Regions from separate parts of the Homo sapiens genome. Here region 2 is linked to region 1. Evidence: promoter capture Hi-C in 16 types of primary human blood cells and fetal thymus (Javierre and others, 2016). All regions are on one chromosome and are shown on one strand. The core of a region is centred on a gene start or on the middle of the fragment in contact, and the rest is flanking DNA. Distances in the headings are between cores, read along the strand shown.

Region 1 (6,766 bases), core at 1,668-4,167:
GTTTATGGTTCATGAAAATAGAGTGTTCATGGAATTATGCAGTCAGAAGATGAGCGGGCACTTCCTCCAGCCTTTGTTGCAGTATGAAGGCCTCTGCAAGAGGAATCAGGAACATGAGGCTCAAGTCTCAGTGCCACCCATTCTCCATGTGTGTTCATAAGTCACTTGGCTTCTGTCAGTTTCTCATTTGTAAAATAAGGGTAATAATGTTTTTCTTATAAGGTTTTTAACAGGAATAAGTAACATAACATAGATGAAATGGCTTTGTTAACCAGAACTGCTCTACAAAAATAAATTATAAAATTTATCCAGAGCTCAAAGATTCCAATAAGACATTCTACCAAAAATAGTTGAATGTGTATTTTGTGTTCTTATTCTTGCCTCATTTTCACCTGTTTATGTGCTAAATTCTTCATTAGGTAATAAACTCCTTAAAGCCATAGTGAGTGAACATATTATATCCTTTTTTTGTATTACTCTCTGAATTATACTTTAATGGACATGCAAAGGACTTTGTTCACATTCTGCCCTGGTCCTCAGTTCTTATACTAAGTAAATAATCGTTACTGCCAAAAGTCTCCTTTCACCTTTCTATATCTAAACCCTTCCACTGCAACTCAGGTCTATTTCCACATAGTCTATCCTTGAAGCTCATGGAGAATTGGCAGGTCAGCATTCGCTTAACAAAAGCCTTTATTACTGTTAACAAAGAATCTTCAGCTACAAGACAGAATCTTTGGTTCTCAATCCAAATCTGTTTCTCTTGTAATCTAAAACAACTGGGATTTCCTAGCTTCAGGAAGAAAGGAGCAGTACCTGCTGGGTCATCAAAGATTCTTAGAGCCACAGAGTTTCATCCCCAGCCCAATGGCTCTTCCCTACTCCTCCTTTCTCTTGGTTCCAAAGGAAAACCCATCATTGCCTGGTCAAGGGAGAGGAGTAAAGCGCATCAACATAAAGTGCTAGAGGACATATGGACAGACAGGAAAAGAAGGAAAGGGATGAAGACACCAGCATCAAAGGAAAGTGAAAGTGGAGTGTTCTTAGGGCACTGATAGTCCTTAGAAGACTGATGACATGCTCTTGTCTACCCTGATGCTGGAACAGAAGTCCTTATTTAACAGGCAAGTTGGCATTGGTTCTTAATAAAAGACTTTTGAAAGCTGAAGGAATGGTGAAGAAGGGATGGCTATCTCTCAGCCTCCCTCCTTCTATCGTGTAGATATGCCTACCCGATTTGCCCTTTGCTCAAAGTAGTTCTATATTCTTTCCATGAGGTTTTTAACAAGCGAGCCCAGTTCAGCGCACCTTTTAAGTTTAAAGATGAATATTTTTAGCCTAAGCCACCTCGCCCTGTCTTTACCGCTGTGGTGTGGTTTTCACTAAACCTCCCTAGGAGGGCTCGCGCAGTCCTCAGGCTCCGGATAAACACGTGTGCCCGCATCCAGCTCCGGCGCGCCCTGCATTTCAGCACCGCCGCCTCTGGAGAGCGCCTTGCTGGCGGGCCAGGTCAGGGCCTCCCACACGCTCTCTCATCCATCCCAGCCCACTCGCTTTTCCCTACTCCTCGCTTCTCTCAGTTTCAAGAAAAAGCACCCCCAACTTCTAACTTCTCAATTCCTGCTTCTAAAGTGACCTCCGCGTCCCTCTTTCCGTGTCTAAACGCTCATGCCCCACGCCTTTGAGTCCTACGAGCAGCTGCGAAGCCGCGTGGCTTCCCACCGGTGGCGCGAGACCTCCAATAGGCATCTATCGATCACCTTTCCCCTACCGCTGCTGGACCCCGAACCAGCCAGCCGGATGCCCCCGCTCGCTCTCTCTGACTCCACGCCCCAAAGCTTCTAAGAAACAAACGCGCGATAAGTCCCCTCCCCCCAACACGCACACGCATATACTCACACACAGTCATTCGCACATTCGTACACACACTAGACGCCTCAAGCCTTCCGAGTGCCATCGCCACCCTGGGCAGAGCCTCAGCCAACTTGGGCCCCGATCCTTCGGCTCCGGCTCGCGCAGGGCCTCCCGCAGCCTCCGCCCGGCCCCCTCCCCGTCCTAGGCAGCGGGTCCCTGAGGCCGAACCTAGGCGGAAAAGGGCCCCCTCCCTATTCACTCAGCATCCACCTCGCGCGGGCAATACACGGCCCACAATTCCCAAACACTGGTCCCTGGGCCGCCCAGAATCACCAGCCAAATCCGAAATTAATCTTGAAGCCCCAGCCCCTGTCACCGGTGTGTCGGGCGCGAGTGTGTTTGCGAATCCCAGGCACATACATGATTTAACTCCTTCGAGCTTTCGGCCCATCCTAAACAAACAGCACGTTATCTCCAGCCCCTTCCTCCCCTACTCGGCGCCCCAACCTCTGCCCCCATCCCGGTCTTCGCCAGCCTGGTAGCCGAACCACCGCACCGCCACACTCCAGTTCTGGTATCTCGAACCCCTGCCCAGCCCCAAATGATACTCATCTCTAGTCCCCTCCCATCCCCCACCTTTGGCCCCCTGCGAGCCGGGTCTGGCCCCGGCAAGTGACGCCTCGGAAACGCAGTCTGCGTACCCTCCCCTGAGTCCAAAATGAAGGGGCCGACCTCCACCAGCTGGATGAGCCGGCCCACCCCTCCGAAGGGGCACACGCCTTCCCGTTCGATCGCCCTGGAAAACACAGGTGCCTGGGAAAGGAGAGGAGCGGAAGCGGCTTCCAGAGGTGGGCGGGAGGACTCACCAAACATCTGAATGTGCCCTTTGGTGATGGGATTGAAGCTGCCGCAGGCGAGCAAGATAACGTGGGTCTTGGTGGTCTCGGTCATGGTGCAGATGGGTCCTTCGCGGTGGTCTAGGGGTTGCCTCTCTTTTTGTGTCTCGTTGTGTCTGCAGAGGGAGAAAGGAAGGCGAGGCTCCGGCGGTGGATGCTGTGGACTCCAAGGAGCCGCTCCAGACGCAAACCGCGTCACTCTCCGCCTCCCCTTAACGCTTGCAGCTCCGGCTAGATCCGAGGCTGCTTTTGTATTGCTCTGCTCTCTTCTCTCCTCGGTCGCTCTCTTTTCGTTCTGGCTTCCTTCGCATCTCTCGCCTGGTGCCCCACCCCATCCTCTCTATCGCCCCCAGCCCACTTCACTCCATCACTGTCTTCCTTAGAGTTTATCCAGAAGGCAAGACGTGGTATCCAAGCTCAGAACCAAGAGCCCACAGCATGGTGTGAGCTCTTTCTGCCTCTTGCCTCATCTTGATTCAGTTTTCCTCCTCATTCTAACATTTTTCTGTCCCCCCTACTTTCTCTAACATCTCCAAGTTAAAAAATGTTTGATCTTAAGGTATTTTTTCTTTCTCTCTTCCTCAAAATTTTAAGTGAGAAATGACCATTGTTTATTTCAGTAGTATTCATTTCTGCTTTTCCTTTTTCCTTTATCTGATGATTCCAAACTATTGAGTTGAGTCCAAATCTTGATCTGCTGGCTGCAGAGAGATAGGGGTGATCTAAGCCCTTCCTCTGCAATACTGATCCTTTTCGTGGGCGAAGCAATGCTATCCGTTTGAGAGAACATGAAGGGGGCAGAGTTACTAAAACTGTATTAGAAAATTATGGGGATCCGCCGGGTGCGGTGGCTCATGCCTGTAATCTCAGCACTTTGGGAGGCCGAGGCGGGCGGATCACGAGGTCAGGAGTTCGAGACCAGCCTGGCCAGCACGGTGAAACCCTGTCTCTACTAAAAAGCAAATACAAAAACTAGCCGGGCATGGTGGCGAGTGCTTGTAATCCCAGCTACTCAGGAGGCTGAGGCAGGAGAATTGCTTGAACCTGGGAGGCAGAGGTTGCAGTGAGCGAAGATCGCACCACTGCACTCCAACCTGGGCGACAGCGAGAATCCATCTCGAAACAAAAAAAAAGAAAAAAGAAAATGATGGGGATCCTCCATAAGCTACCAAAGTTGAGACAAAGACTTACCATTTAACAAGTGTTTCTTGAGGGCTCATTATGTGTCAAGTATTGCTATAAACCCTGCTGGTGAAGCAAAGTCACTGTCTTCATTTTACTGGAGGAAGATAGACAATAAATATTAGATGGCAATTGTGCAATGCACAGTAAGTGAATGCAATTTACTCTCTGACAGAGCAGAGAGTGAGTGGAGAAGAGAGGACGAATCAAGTAGTCTGAGAAGGCCTCTCTGGGGAGGTGACATTTCAGTGAGACCTGAGCGACAGGAGTAGTTGCTAGCTCACGTATTCAGGGACAGGGAAGGGCTTACTGTATTCATAGAAATGAAAGGCCAGTGATGCTAGAAAGTATGGGCAAGGGGAAAAATGATAGAAGACTGAGCAGCAGGTGATCAGGGCCAGATCAAATGGGGCTTGTAGACTAGGGCAAGAGTTAGACACTTTTCTAAGTGGAATAATAACAAAAGGAAGCCACTGAAGCTTTTAAGCAGGGGAATAATATGTAATTTACATTTTTATAGGATCACTCTGGCTGCTGGGTGGAAAGGGAGGGCAAATGGGAAGACAAGGAAAGCATTTAGGAAAATCTGGTAGCCTAGGCAAGTGGAGTTGTCCTGAGACCAGGGTTTATAGAGACGGGAGCAACGAGAAGTAGATGGTCTCAGGATATGTTTTATAGATTTTGAAATTTGGCTTAAACAATGAGTAGACTGAAATTGAGAATGGTAGGGGAAGATAGATGTTCTATGCTTATACAACAGAAAGAACCAATAATTCTTTGCAGATGAATTGGATATAGAGGATAATTCTTTTTTTTTTTTTTTTTTTTTTTGAGACAGGATCTCACTCTGTCACCCAGGCTGGAATGCAGTGGCATGATCTCAGCTCACCACAGCCTCGATCTCCTGGACTCAAGCAATCCTCCCACTTCGGCCTTGCAAGTAGCTGGGACTACAGGTGTTTGCCACCATGTCCAGCTAATTCTTCGTGTTTTTTGTAGAGATGGGATCTCACTATATTGCCCAGGTTGGTCTTGAACTCCTGACCTCAAGCAATCCACCCACGGCAGCCTCCCAAACTGTTGAGATTAAAGGCATGGGCCACAGACCCAGCCAGAGCCAATAATTCTTAACTTAGAGATTGACAAGTACAAATACGTACCTATCCTGGGCTTCAAGTTTCTTGGATAAATTTCCACCCCATATTAGTGAGTTGGTCACTGTGTTTTTTCTTATCCAAGAGCATGTGGTAGGTGTGGAGTAAATATTTGTTAAATTATGATGAATAGCAAATCAACCCTAATACGCATAAAATTTCTAGTTTAAATAGAAGACTCCTAAGAACTGATATATATTTATAATGGGGTTTGTATCTTCCCTAATATGATATGCAGATTAGTGGCTTAAAAAGAGCTAGAGCTTGTAAAGGGAGGTTGACTCAGGTATGAAACTGAGACTCACTAGCTAGGCAATTGACATAATTATAGTTAAGCAATCAATATTTATTGAGTGTCAGCCATGCACCAAGCCCTGATTTAGGGGCTGTGAACAAAACAGAGTCCCTGCTTTAATACAGCTCACATTCCAGGGGAAAACAACAGACCATAAACAAATGAATAAACATAATGGTAAAAAGTACCATAAAGAAAAATAAAGCAGAATGTGAAGAAAAGAGAAAGAAAGAAAATCCTCTTTTATTTGCAGGGGTCAAAGATGGCCTCTTTGATAAGACAGTGTTTGAACAGGGACCTAAATGAAGTGAAGGTATGTGTCACTTGAATATCTAGGGAAGAATATACCAGGCAGGACTGCTAGTATAAAGGATCGGAAGACTAAGAGTGCTTGGGGGTGTTTGACAAGCACACCAAGGTGACTGGAGAAAACAAAGAATGTGGAAAGCACTCAAAGACAGGTCCAAAAAGAAGGACAGATCATACAGGGCCTTGTAGGTCTTAATTAAGGCTCTGGTTTTTTCACTTAGAAGGGATGGGAAGCCATTCGAGGGTTTTGAGTGGAGAAGTGACATGAGGTGACTCAACGTTTGAAAAGTATGTTTGGCAGAAGATATAAATTTTGGAGTCTTCAGTGTAGTTTATATTTAAAGTCATGGGACTAGATGAGGTTACCTAGGGAGAAACAGATATACAGAGTGAAAAGGAGGTCCTCAGTTTCAACCCTGGGGCACACCAAATTAATAATAGTAGCTAACATTCATTGGGTGTTACTAGAAGCCCAAGCACTGTAAAATGTTTACAGATGTTAACTCTTTAACACTCACAATAACTCTGTGAGTTTGTATGATTTTATTCTATCTTAGAGATAAGCCTACAGGGGCACAGGGAAATTAAGTAACTGGTCTGGGTTGAGACTGCTAGCATGTATGGAACCAGATTCAAACCCTGACAGTTTTGATTGAAGGCCCTACTCTTGATACAAGGCTACTCTCTCATCTTGTTTCCCTGCTATGCTATACTGGCCATATTTGTAAAATGAGGAAAACAATACCCACCAAGCTGCAGAGATGTGAAGATTAGAGGTAATGTATGTAGAACACCTAGCATATAGTAGATGATCAATAAATGATAGCTAGTTCATAATTGAGAGAATAGGACTTCTTAGCAGAGATTGGAGAACAGACTGAGAGATACCTTACCATGTGCTAAGGTCTGAATGTTTCTGTCCCCCAAAATTCATATATTGAAACCTAATCCCCCATGTCATGGTCTTAAGAGGTAGGGTGATATGGTTTGGATCTGTGTCCTCACCCAAATTTCATGTTGAATTGTAATCCCACGTTGGAGGTGGTGCCTAGTGGGAGGTGATTGGGTCATGGTGG
Region 2 (6,766 bases), core at 2,960-5,459, 520 kb before region 1:
TAGGTGTGGTTGTTGCGCACCTATTATCCCAGCTACTCGGGGGACTGAGGCAGGAGAATGGCTTGAACATGGGAGGCGGAGGTTGCAGTGAGCCGAGATCGCACCACTGCACTCCAGCCTGGGCAATAGAGTGAGACTCCATCTCAAAAATTAAAAATAATAAAATAATAAAAATTTTAAAATTAAAAAGATATACAAATGGCCAAGAAACATATGAAAAATGCTCAACATCACTAATTATCAGGGAAATGCAAATTAAGACCACAGTGAGATACCACCTTACTCCTACATAAATGGCCATAATTTAAAAATCAAAAGAACAATGGATATTTGTATGGATGTGGTGAAAAGGGAACACTTTTACACTGCTGGTGGGAATGTAAACTAGTACAACTACTATGGAAAACAGTATAGAGATTCTTTAACTAAAAGTAGATCTACCATTTGATCTAGCAATCCCACTACTGGGTAGTTCCCCAGAGGAAAATAAATCATTATATGTAAAAGACACTTGCACACGTATGTTTATTGCAGCACAATTCACAACTACAGAAATACAGGACCAGCCTAAATGCCCATCAACCAAGTGGATAAAGAAAATGTAGTATATACATACTATGGAATACTACTCAGCCATAAAAAGGAATGAAATAATTGCATTTGCAGCAACCTGGGTGGAATTGGAGAACATTATTCTATGTAAAGTAACTCAGGGATGGAAAAACCAAATATTGTATGTTCTCACTTATAAGTGGGAGCTAAGCTATGAGGACGCAAAGGCATAAGAGTGATATAGTGGACTTTGGGGACTTGGGAAAAGGGTAAGAGGGAGTGAGGGATAAAAGACTACACATTGGATACAATGTACACTGCTCAGGTGTTGGGTGCACCAAAATCTCAGAAACCACAACTAAAGAACTTATTCATGTAACCAAACACCACCTGCTCCCCAAAAACGATTGAAATAAAATTTTTAAAAAAGATAACTAAAAGTGTATAATTGTATTGTTTGTAACAAAAAGAAAGAATAAATGCTTGAGGTGATGGGTGCCCCATTTATTGTGTGTGGTTATTACTCATTGCATGCCTGTATCAAATTATCTCATGTACCTCATAACTATATACACCACTATGTATACACAAAACTAAAGATTAAAAAAATAAATTTTAAGACATAGAAAAAAGATGTAAAAAGAATCTTTACTTCCTGGGAACTGACTAGAGTTGCCAAATGCCTCAATTGGCCCAGGACTATCTGTTTTCCTAAGACAGAAGAAGTGCTAAAACTGGGAAAATCCTGGGCAAACTGGGATGAATTGGTCATCCTAGGATTTATCTTAAATGGAAGCACTTTTAGGAATTTTCAAACTTTGAAATTCCATATTTCTTTCATACCTAGAAATAAATTTAAGATAAAGGTAACAAAGCAGTTGGCTATATAATCAAATGTTAAATGTTTCTCATCTTAACAGGCATAACTGTAAAACATTTTTCATGCTAACATGTAAAAAATAACCAATAAATACATTATTTTAGTTTTACATTTTTGTGTTAATATAATACATTATATGTACATTATAATATATATCTATTATATAATAAATAATCTCACATCTCAAGTTTTTTTTTTTTTTTTTGAGATAGAGTCTCACTCTGTCACCAGGCTGGAGTGCAATGGCGCCATCTCGGCTCACTGCAATCTCCATCTCTCCCAGGTTCAAGCAATTCTCCTGCCTCAGCCTCCCAAGTAGCTGGGATTATAGGCACACGCAACCATACCCAGCTAATTTTTGTATTTTTAATAGAGACAGGGTTTCACCATGTTGGCCAGGATGGTCTCGATCTCTTGACCTGGTGATCTGCCCACCTCAGCCTCCAAAAGTGCTGGGATTACAGGCGTGAGCCACCACGCCAGGCCAAGAATCTTATTTTTTTAAATATATGTATTTAAATATATATAATATATAAGAATATATACATATTTAAATATTTAAGAATAAGTATATATATTACACTATATATTATTTATATATTTAACTATATAGTTTATAGATTATATTATCTAGTATATAATCATACATAGTTCTTATATATGATTATTAACTTTTAACATATAAAATATATATTTTAAAAGTTAAGAATCATATATATATAATTATATATATAAAGTTAAGAATCTTGAGATGTGAGATTACCCTGGATCATCCAGGCAGGGTCAATCTAATCATATGAGTCCTTAAAAGTGGAAGAGGGAGGTAGAAGAAGGAGTCAGGGAGATGAGACAAAAGAATAGACAAGAGACTCAGAGGAGAGACACTTGATCCACTGTTGCTGGCTTTGAAAATGGATGGAGGCCATGAGCCAAGGAATGCAATCGGCCACCAGAAACTCAGCTGTCAACCGTCAAGGAAACAGGGAACTGAATCCTACAACTACAAGGAACTGAATTCTGTCAACATCCAAATGAACAAGGAAACAGATCCTTCCCTAGAGCATCCAAAAAGGAATGCAGGCCTGTCAACACTTTGATTTTGGCCCAGTGAGACCCATGTCAGATTTTTGACCTACAGAACTGTAAGATTATAAATCTGTGTTAAGCCACTAAGTTTGTGGTGACTTATTATGACTGCAATGGAAAACTAACACAATATATACAATATATAAATTCAGTCTTTCATTTATAAGGTATAGGGGGAAAAGTAGGGGTGGAAAGGTAGAAGAGGAAAAAAATTAATTTTATGAAATATCAAAATTCTTAGAAAATCTTAAAAATGCTTTATGCACGTTTTAGAATCATGAAACGAAAAAACAGCATCACCATATTCTGTAGTTGGCCTGGGAAAAGACAAATAGGTTAGAAACCAGTGGCAGCAACAGAAGGGAGGTAGATGGCCAGAGTAAGAAGTTTGTTTACACAAGGCTACTGCTTTTATTGTATACCTTCAAAGATATTACTTTGCCCATTACCTATTCTTTCTGAAGCCAAAAACTGAGAAAGGTAGGGGAAGAGGATGGAAAAGGAAAATCCCCACCCTTAATACTCACTACGTTCATTATAGAAAGATGTTTCTTGTTAAGGCCCCCAAGGACAATCCTGGAATTATTTTAACAAGTCTTTGTGTACACAGACTATGTATAATCAAAATCTATGGAACTGCCTATAGGTTTTCTTCTTTTAAAAAAGTGCTGTTGGGCCGGGCGCTGTGGCTCACACCTGTAATCCCAGCACTTTGGGAGGCCGAGACTGGCGGATCACGAGGTCAGGAGATCGAGACCATCCTGGCTAACACGGTGAAACTCAGTCTCTACTAAAAATACAAAAAAAAAAAAAAAAAAAAAAAAAAAAAAAAAAACAATTAGCCGGGCGTGGTGGCAGGCGCCTGTAGTCCCAACTACTCGGGAGGCAGAGGCAGGAGAATGGCGTGAACCCGGGAGGCGGAGCTTGCAGTGAGCTGAGGTCGCGCCACTGCACTCCAGGCTGAGCGATAGAGCCAAACTCCATCTCCCCAAAAAAAAAAAAAAAAAATCAACTCTCAGCCTCAAGAGATTGTTTATGGCAATTCAGCGTAACCTTTGTTAGGTTACACATAACATGAAGTAAAAGTCAAAAGTTTAAGTATTTAAGCCTGAATGCTTAAATTTCTTTTTATATTCTTAAGTCAACATAAGCTCTGCTTTGGGAAAAGACCATTCGTTGTTTCTTAGAAAATCAACTCTCTATTTTAGAGGCCACATGACCATCCAATGTAAAGATTATATTTCTCATTTGCAGCTAAGCGTAGCCACATAATAACATTCTAGGTAGAAGCATGAAAGTCAAAATAATGTGTGCAACTTTGAAGAAAGGTTCTTTCCCTTCTGCTTGGCTGAAAACCAGGCATGAAAGCTTGATTACCAATTGCTGTCTTGGATCGTATAGTGATTTTTCATGGAAATCTTACAATCGTGAAACAATATAGAAGAAACCTGAATTTCTGACAACGCAAAACACCTACCTACCTACATACCTACCTACCAGCCCTACGCTGAGTTCCCACAAGGAACATCTATTAGCCCTATTCTCTGCAACTATTGACTATGAGGGAGAAATACATTTCTGTATTGTTTACCTCTCTTATTTTGGATTTCCTTGTTTCTTGCTGTTGAATCTATCCTATTTTTTTCTTTTTTTCACTTTTTTCTTCTAAAATGTATAAGAATGAGCTTAAAGAACCTATCTTAATATATGACATATTATCTTATTCTGGTTACTGTGAATTAGCGATAAATTAAATTTTGTCTCTTGTCTATATGGAACACCTAATGCTTTTTATTGGAGGAGTATTAGAAAACAATATTTAAAACCATATTTGTTTCTGGATTAAATAGTGATGACTGTACTATATACTAAAAATATACTAATATCATTGAATTGTACACTTTGTAATGTGTGAATTTTATGGCATGTGAATTATATCTTAATAAAGCTGTTATTTTAAAAATATGTAAAATGAATCATTCAGTGAAAGCATGATATTTAAATATTTTTTAATTAAGCTTTGAATTGAAACTACCATTTCAGTGGGGTATGAGAATCATGTATTAAACAAATTTGTGAAATATAAAACTTTAACATCAATTCAGACGCTTTAACTTGTGACTATTCTGATATCCCCCTTGACGTTTGCTTCTATCTTATTATTATTCATTTCCAGATTCAGATTTTGCATTACTTTGAAGAGCATTTTATCATCTTTTTTATCTCCTGAAGAAGCCCTTTTGTTGAGAGCTTCTTCTGCTACGATAAAAAACTGTTCCATTGGTTGAAGAATGCTTACTCCATAGCCTTTGTTGCTATAAATATGATTATTAGTCATCTTCAATTTGGGTGCTGGAAGAACCTATTAAATTATTTGAGGAAATTAGTTTTTCAATGATTTTATTTAAAAAATGAAGTAATGAACATATAAAAATTAGCTTAGACTTTATTCTTGGATTAACAGATTTTTTAAAACAACCAAGACTCTCAATTTTGAACAAGTGTTAAGTACTGTTTTCATGACACCAACTAACGTAATATTAACTACAAAAAATATTTAATAAGAATTTTTTTTTTTGAGATGGAGTCTTGCTTTGTTGCCCAGGCTGGAGTGCAATGACACAGTCTTGGCTCACTGCAACCTCCGCCTCCCGGTTCAAGTGATTCTCCTGCCTCAGCCACTCAAGTAGCTGGGACTACAAGGCGCGTGCCACCACACCTGGCTAATTTTTGTATTTTTAGTAGAGACGGGGTTTCAATATTTTGGCCAGGCTGGTCTCGAGCTCCTGACCTCGTGATCCACCCGCCTTGGCTTCCCAAAGCGCTGGAATTACACGCGTGAGCCACCATGCCCAGCCAATAACAAAATATTAAATGAGCCAGGTGCGGTGGCTCATGCCCTGTAATCCCAGCTCTTAAGAAGGCAGAGGCAGAAGGATAGCTTGAGCCCAGGAGTTCGAGACCTGCCTGGGCAATATAGCAAGACCCTATTCTCCACAAAAAGAAAAAGAAAAAAAAAGTGTAAGAAAATATTTAATGAAGTTTTCAATTTACTTTTATCAGTTATTGATAAAAACAACTAATTCTGTATGGCAATACAACCCATGAAGCTGATCTCTTATAACATAATAAACATGAAAATAAGTAATTTCAAATAATATGTGATTTGGAGAAAATAAGGTAATGTGATAGCATGACTGGGTGGGGAGAGGTTACCACTTGAGTGTTCTTTACATTAAAGGCTTCTTTGAAGAGGGACAACCACATTCAGATAGTAATAAGATCTATAGAAAGAGTGTTTCAGGTCAGGCGTGGTGGCTCACACCTGTAATCCCAGCACTTTGGGAGGCAGAGGCGGGCGGATCACCTGAGGTCAGTAGTTCGAGACCAGCCTGACCAACATGGAGAAACCCCGTCTCTACTAAAAATACAAAATTAGCTGGGCGTGGTGGCGCATGCCTGTAATCCCAGCTACCTAGAAGGCTGAGGCAGGAAAATCGCTTGAACCTGGGATGCAGACATTGCGGTGAGCTGAGATCGCGCCATTACACTCCAGCCTGGGCAACAAGAGCAAAACTCCATCTCAAAAAAGAAAAAAAAGAGTGCTTCAGGTGAAGGTAACAGCCAGAACAAGGTTAATAATTTCTGGGAACACAAACAAAGCCAGTGTGGCTCGAATATAATGTATAAGAGGAAGATTGGAAGGAGATTACGTTGGAGAAAGCAGGGGCCAGATCTTGTCAGATTTTATAAACCATGTTTATCAAATTTTAACGTATGTATATATCATCTGGGGAGCTTGTTAAAGACCACATTTTGTTTAATAGGTCTGGCGTGAGGCTCAAAATTCTCCACTTCTAACAAACTACCAGGTGATGCCAATGCTGCTGGTCCATGGCTCACACTTTGAGTATCAGGAATATGATTCTTAAAGTGTGAGTTAAACCAGCAGTATCAGCATCACCTAGGAAATTACTAAAACAAATTCTCAGGCTTTACCCTAGGCCTACTGAATCAGAAAGCAGAGTGGGCCTCTGCAAGAATGATTCTGATGCATGCTAACATTCAAGGACCACTGAAAAACTGAAAAATATTTAAGAACAGAAAAAATGTTTAAAGATAAATCAAAGATTTTAAAACTGCTATTTACCATTTGTACCTTCTTTTCTTTTTTCTTTCTTTTTTTTTCTTTTTTTTTTTTTTTTTGAGACAGAGTCTCAATCTGTCACCCAGGCTGGAGTGCAGTGG

What was found. Contacts are between HindIII fragments. The CHiCAGO score rates a contact against its expected background, and 5 or more counts as called.
Region 2: a fragment that was not itself captured here is called in contact with the fragment with the promoter of NMNAT2 in region 1 in 1 of 17 cell types (endothelial precursors); the score reaches 5.4 in endothelial precursors.

What each region holds. Positions count from the first base shown.
Region 1 is chr1:183,415,463-183,422,228 of GRCh38, forward strand. It overlaps NMNAT2 (nicotinamide nucleotide adenylyltransferase 2), which reads right to left and starts at 2,918. Exons shown (of 11, transcript NM_015039.4): 1 at 2,721-2,918. The coding sequence starts at 2,805. The HindIII fragment of the contact is 2,573 bases long and covers 1,837-4,409 here.
Region 2 is chr1:182,895,355-182,902,120 of GRCh38, forward strand. It overlaps SHCBP1L (SHC binding and spindle associated 1 like), which reads right to left. Exons shown (of 10, transcript NM_030933.4): 10 at 4,511-4,880. The coding sequence ends at 4,629. Among named protein-coding and RNA genes, the nearest start is that of SHCBP1L, 54 kb to the right of the region's middle. The HindIII fragment of the contact is 650 bases long and covers 3,885-4,534 here.